Linked DNA regions of Homo sapiens: region 1 is linked to region 2. Evidence: promoter capture Hi-C in human tissues and cell types (Jung and others, 2019). All regions are on one chromosome and are shown on one strand. Each heading gives the region's core, a stretch centred on a gene start or on the middle of the fragment in contact. The rest is flanking DNA. Distances are from core to core; before and after follow the strand shown.

Region 1 (3,006 bases), core at 290-2,789, 310 kb after region 2:
CTTAGCTTCTCTCCACTCAACCTCAGCTTCTCATCACTGGTTCCCAGCTTCTCTCCACTCAACCTCAGCTTCTCTCTGCTTGATCTCAGCTTCTCTCCACTCAACCTCAGCTTCTCTCCACTCAACCTCAGCTTCTCATCACTGGTTCCCAGCTTCTCTCCACTCAACCTCAGCTTCTCTCTGATTGATCTCAGCATCTCTCCACTCAACCTCAGCTTCTCATCACTGGTTCCCAGCTTCTCTCCACTAGTTCCCAGCTTCTCTCCACTCCATCTCAGCTTCTCTCTACTTGATCTCAAATTCTCTCCACTTGATCTCAGCTTTCTGCCACTGGACCTCAGCTTCACTCCACTGGACCCCTGCTTCTCTCCCCTGCACACCAGCTTCTCACTAGTAGACCTCAGCTTCTCTACACTTGATCTCATCTTGTCTACACTAGACCTCAACCCCTTCTCATCCTGTCCCAGTTTATATCCATTGGATCTCAAGTCCTCTCCACTGGTCCCTACCTTCTCCCCAGCAGACCTCAACCTCTCTTCAAACCCAGACCCCTTCATAGGCCCTGCTGTCATCCCTGCACTCTTAGATTTAGCCTTTATTTCGTGTTTGACCTCTTGCTTTCCCCAAATACCCCTTGGGCTGTCTTTCCCCAAATCTGCTGAAGCTTGTGATGCACTTGCTCCACGGTATAGCAGCTTCACATCCATCCTTTCCTGACTCGGGCCTGACTTCCCTTTCAAGACCGTCTTTTCCACATCTTCCAGTCTCCAGTACTCAGACTCCAGCTTCGGCTTTCGAGTGTTTCTAGTCAGGAGCTCCACTCTCTTCCCAATTACCATGAGCCCGTTCCAAGGTCCCCAGGTTTTCTCTCGCAGCATCGGCACCCCCTTGCAGCCCCGCTCCAGTGGCGACCGTTCGCGGACCCCGGCCTCGCTTGGGGCGCCCTGGCCGCGGGACTTGTGGAGCTCCCTAGTCCTCCTAGGCTGCTTACCCCGCCGCTCCCTCCCGTCCAAGAGCGGAAACCTAAACAGACCCCCCTTCTCCACAGACATTGTCCCCTGCCCTCGCCCCTGGTCCACCACCCACATCCCCACCACTGCTTCCCATTCCCTGTCCCCACCCTGCCACCCTCACCCTCTTCCCCTTCCCCTTCCCCTTCCCCACTGCCTGGTGGGCGCCAAACTGGGCGAGTGCGCACGCGCAGGCCGCACGTGGCCGTTGGAAGGAGGGGCCCGGAACGGCGGCACGGGGTTGTTGTGGGGGTCAGTCCCCCGGGGACTGGAGGGAGACGCGGCACGCGGCCTCTGCGACCCTATGAACTCTGACCCCAGCTCCCACACTGTCGCCTATCACCGGCCCACTCTCCGTGCCGCGTGTCCCTTAAAAGCTGGGGCCTGGGACAGGAACGACAGACAATGCAGCCAATGGCGTCACGCGCGGTGCCCCGCTACCCAATCGAAAGGCGTGGCTGAGGGAAACGCGGTGGGAACCGCCCCCGACTCCAGGCGACTCCTTGGCCGGGCGGGGGAGAGCGTCCCCGTCAGCTGAGAGCATCCTCACTCGGTCAGTTCCTCGGGCGAGTTACGGGGACGACCTGCGGGAGCACGCGGGCAGTGGCCGGACGCTGAAGCCCAGGAGAGCGATGGAGACGTATGCGGAGGTTGGGAAGGAGGGCAAGGTAGAGAAAGGATGAAGACCCCCACCCCAGCCTCCCCTCACTCCATGAAAGCCCGTGATGCCCAATCATGCGGTGGTGTGTGTGTGTCTGTGTGTGTGTGGTCTGCCTCTGTGTGTTTCTGTGTGTGTCTGTGTGTGTATAGTCTGCATGTGTCTGTTTCTCTGTGTGTCTGTGTGTATGTCGATGTGCCTGCATATGTCTGTGTGTGTGTGTATCTGTGTATGTCTGTATTTGTGTCTCTGTGTGTCTGTGTGTCTGTGTGTGTCTCAGTGTGTGTCTGTGTCTTTGTGTGTCTCTGTGTATCTGTGTGTGTGTCTGTGTGTCTCCGTGTCTCTGTGTGTGTGTGTATGGCCTGTGTGTGTCTGTGTGTGTGCACGTATGCGTCCATGTGGGTGTTTGTGCGTGCATGTCTGTGTCTGTCTCTGTGTGTGTCTGTGCATGTCTGTGTGTGTGTGTCTGTGTGTCTGTGTCTGTGTATGGTCTGCGTGTGTCTTTGTGTCTGTGTCTGTCTGTGTGTATGGTCTGCATGTGTGCATGTATGCATCTGTGTGTGTCTCTGTGTGTATCTGTGTGTGCACGCATGTGCCTGTGTGTGTCTGCGCAGGTCTGTGTCTCTTTGTGTCTGAGTGTGTGTCTGTCTCTGTGTCTATGTATGGTCTGCGTGCATCTTTATGTCTGTGTGTGTGTGTCTCTGTGTGTGTGTATGGTCTGCGTGTGTCTGTGTGTGTGTGTCTGTGTATTTCTGGGTCTGTGTGTGTGTTTGCATGTGTCTGTGTGTGTCTGTATCCGTGTGTCTTTGTATATCTGTGTGTGTCTATGTCAGTGTGTCTGTGTGTGCATCTGTGTGTGTCTGTGTGCCTGTGTATGATCTGTGTATGTCGTTGTGTGTGTCTGTGTGTGTGTTTCTCTGTGCCTGTGTGTTTGTGTGTGTCTGTGTATCTGTGTGTGTTTCTATGTGTGTCTGTGTGTGCGTGTGTCTGTGTTTGTCTCGTGTGTCTGTGTGTGTGTATGTGCCCATGTGTCTCTGTGTGTATGTGTGTGTCTGCGCAAGTGAGAGAAAGGAGACTTGAGCAAGGGAGTGGGGAGCCTCTGTGGCACCTGTGTGCGGACTGATGAGGATGCCAAGGGAGGCAGGGTTTTGCCTTTGTCCTTACAGATGGAAAGGGACCCGTCACTGTCACTCTTACCCTCCCCAAGACCAACTCAGGCTGTCTTGATGGGGGTAGGTGGGTAGGGGGTGGGAGGTGAGGGCGGGGAGGAGGGCAGGATGTTAGGGATTGAGCAGAGGCTGGCATCCTCTTCTCCTTTCCCAAGGCGAGAGAATCCTG
Region 2 (3,026 bases), core at 527-3,026:
GTAAAGCCCACCAGTCATTCTATTCTGAGATAGGAGAAAACTGCCCTATGGCTGGAGGTGAGATATGCTAGCGGTGATACTGCTCTGTTACTCTTTGCTACACTGAGATGTTTGGGTAAAGAGAAACATAAATCCAGCCTACGTGCACATCCGGGCACAGTACCTTCCCTTGAACTTATTTATGATGCAGATTCCTTTACTCACATGTTTTCCTGCTGACCTTCTTCCCACCATCACCCTGTTCTGCCGCAGTCCCCTTGCAGAGATAGTGAAAATAGTAATCAGTAAATACTGAGGGAACTGAGAGACCAGCGCCGGTGCAGGTCCTCGTATACTGAGTGTGCCGGTCCCCTGGGCCCACTGTTCTTTCTCTATACTTTGTGTCTTATTTCTTTTCTCAGTCTCTTGTCTCCACCTGACGAGAAATACCCACAGGTGTGGAGGGGCAGGCCCCCTTCAAACATGTTGGTCAGGCTGACCTGGAACTCCTGACCTCAGGTGATCCTCCAGCCTCGGCCTCCCAAAGTGCTGAGATTACAAGCGTGAACCACTGTGCCTGGCCCTCACCCCAGTTTATAGATGGGGGACCTAACGCACCCAAAGGGAACTGTGTGAGTTCTCACATCCAATGAGGGGCTGAACCGTGATTGAAACCCAGCACCGTCTCACTGTGGCATCTCTGCCCTTGAGTTATCTCCCAAAGGCATCCCAACCAGACTTTTCATAACCAGTCCCAGAATCTCACCAGTGCTCCATAGCTGTGGTTGAGGCACTGTCCCCAAGCCTGGGTCCTGAGACCCTACCAGCAGAAGAACCACTGCCTGTCCAGCCCCTCCTACACAGCTCAGGGGCTGGATCCCCACCAGTGTGATGTGCTGATTGAGCTAACACCACTCCATGGCTGTCTACACAGGCACTGAGAGATGCAATCCGTTGGCTTGAGAGCCGGGCAGCTGAGCCCAGGAGAGCAGGGTCCCCTCCCAGCCCTTTGGCCTCTTCCAGACCTGCCCAGTTGCTCCTTCTCCCTCCCTCCTTTCCTGGGGTCACTTCTTCTTCCCTCCTCAGTCTCTCCTTCCTCCATTCCCTGGGTGCCCGCCCCTGCCCCGGGGTTCTGGACCTCCTTGGAACCTTGGATTCACTCTCTGCCTCTCACCCACGCTCTTTCTCTGGGGCGTCTCCTCGTGCTTCTCTCATGGTCACTTCACCAGGACCGACTCCTCCCCGGAGCCTGGAGGCACCCACTTGCTGGTGGGAGAGAGTGTCTGGCGTGGGGCCAGTCTCCCTCTCTGGGTCTCTGCCTCACTCCTCACTGCACCCTCTCATGCCTGTCAGTCTTTCTACCTCTCCCCCTTTTTGCCTCGGTTTCCCCATCCCTCTGTCCCTTCTTAAGCTCTCATCCTTACAGTACGCTAGAAGGCAGGCTCTATTATCCTTTAGGATTTAGGCCTCTTTAGATAAAAGGGCTCACAGGCTTGGAGGGTTTTAAGTGACTTACCCGGCGGCGGAGTACTGATCTTAGTACCGCCCGCCGCCCCGGACTGCCCCGCCCCTCCCTAGCCCCCCCATCCCCGCCCCTCCCTAGCCCCCCCATCCCCGCCCCTCCCTAGCCCCCCCATCCCCGCCCCTCTCCCGCCCCTCCCTTGTCCCCGCCCCTTCCCGCCCCAACTCAGGTTCTGCCCCACCCCGCCCCAATTCACGTCCTGCTCCGCCCCGACGTAGGCCCCGCCCTGGCCCCCGGGCCCCGCCCCCGTCTGACGCAGGCCCCGCCCCCTCTCCGCCCCGCCCCGGCTCGGGCGGCCGGAGGACCCGGAGCTAAGGCGCCCGAACCCGCGGCGGCGGTGGGGACGATGTGGTTCTTTGCCCGGGACCCGGTCCGGGACTTTCCGTTCGAGCTCATCCCGGAGCCCCCAGAGGGCGGCCTGCCCGGGCCCTGGGCCCTGCACCGCGGCCGCAAGAAGGTGAGTGCGGCCGAGCTCCGTAGGCCGCGGTCGACCTGGGCCTTGCCTATTCCGCGCCGCCGACCCCGTCGCGTTGCGCCCGGCCTGACGTGGCGGCGGAACCAAGGGGTAGCAGGCCGGGGAGGGGGCGGGCAGTGCCTACGTGGCGGGCGGAGGGACCGAGGGACCGACAGGCGGACAGGGCCGGGGTCACGTGGGCCCGGCGAAGTGTCCCTAAGGCTGACCTGGGGAGAGACCTGGCTGCGGGCCCTTGTCTTCCGGCCACACAACAGCTCTGGGACCATCTCAGGCCCCGCTGCCCTCCCCTAGGCCACAGGCAGCCCCGTGTCCATCTTCGTCTATGATGTGAAGCCTGGCGCGGAAGAGCAGACCCAGGTGGCCAAAGCTGCCTTCAAGCGCTTCAAAACTCTACGGCACCCCAACATCCTGGCTTACATCGATGGACTGGAGGTACCTGCTGCCTTGCCTGCCCGTCTCTGCCCCTCACGATGTCCTGGTTACCCACTCCTGTCTCCCCTCCTGCCCTGTTTCCACCCTATGTGCCCCAGCACCCCCAGATTTGGTTTCCTCTTCCCCATCTCTCCCAACTTCAAGTCGCTTATCTCTCCTTCCTCTCTGCCCCTCCGCCCTTGATAACCCTGTGTCCCCTTCCCCAGACAGAAAAATGCCTCCACGTCGTGACAGAGGCTGTGACCCCGTTGGGAATATACCTCAAGGCGAGAGTGGAGGCTGGTGGCCTGAAGGAGCTGGAGATCTCCTGGGGGCTACACCAGATCGTGGTGAGGTGGGGGGCAGTGGTGATGAGAGCAGGGATGGGGGGTTGCAGGTGCTGGGGCGTGATGGCTCCTTTTGCCCCCAGAAAGCCCTCAGCTTCCTGGTCAACGACTGCAGCCTCATCCACAACAATGTCTGCATGGCCGCCGTGTTCGTGGACCGAGCTGGCGAGTGGAAGCTTGGGGGCCTGGACTACATGTATTCGGCCCAGGGCAACGGTGGGGGACCTCCCCGCAAGGGGATCCCCGAGCTTGAGCAGTATGACCCCCCGGAGTTGGCTGACAGCAGTGGCAG

The links. The method cuts DNA at HindIII sites, captures the fragments that hold promoters and counts their contacts. A contact is called where the count stands out against the background at its distance.
Region 1: the fragment with the promoter of SNX32 here is called in contact with the fragment with the promoter of SCYL1 in region 2 in 2 of the 25 tissues and cell types used here (dorsolateral prefrontal cortex and spleen).

What each region holds. Positions count from the first base shown.
Region 1 is chr11:65,832,424-65,835,429 of GRCh38, forward strand. SNX32 (sorting nexin 32) reads left to right here and starts at 1,540. Exons shown (of 13, transcript NM_152760.3): 1 at 1,540-1,678. The coding sequence starts at 1,643. LOC124902693 reads right to left here and starts at 1,376. Exons shown (of 7, transcript XM_047427980.1): 1 at 1-1,376. The coding sequence starts at 1,088. RefSeq lists silencers at 1,092-1,221, 1,395-1,607 and an enhancer at 1,532-1,621. The HindIII fragment of the contact is 13,089 bases long and covers 1-3,006 here.
Region 2 is chr11:65,523,307-65,526,332 of GRCh38, forward strand. SCYL1 (SCY1 like pseudokinase 1) reads left to right here and starts at 1,777. Exons shown (of 18, transcript NM_020680.4): 1 at 1,777-1,958; 2 at 2,268-2,408; 3 at 2,615-2,737; 4 at 2,818-3,026. The coding sequence starts at 1,848. RefSeq lists a silencer at 1,625-2,124. The HindIII fragment of the contact is 17,278 bases long and covers 1-3,026 here.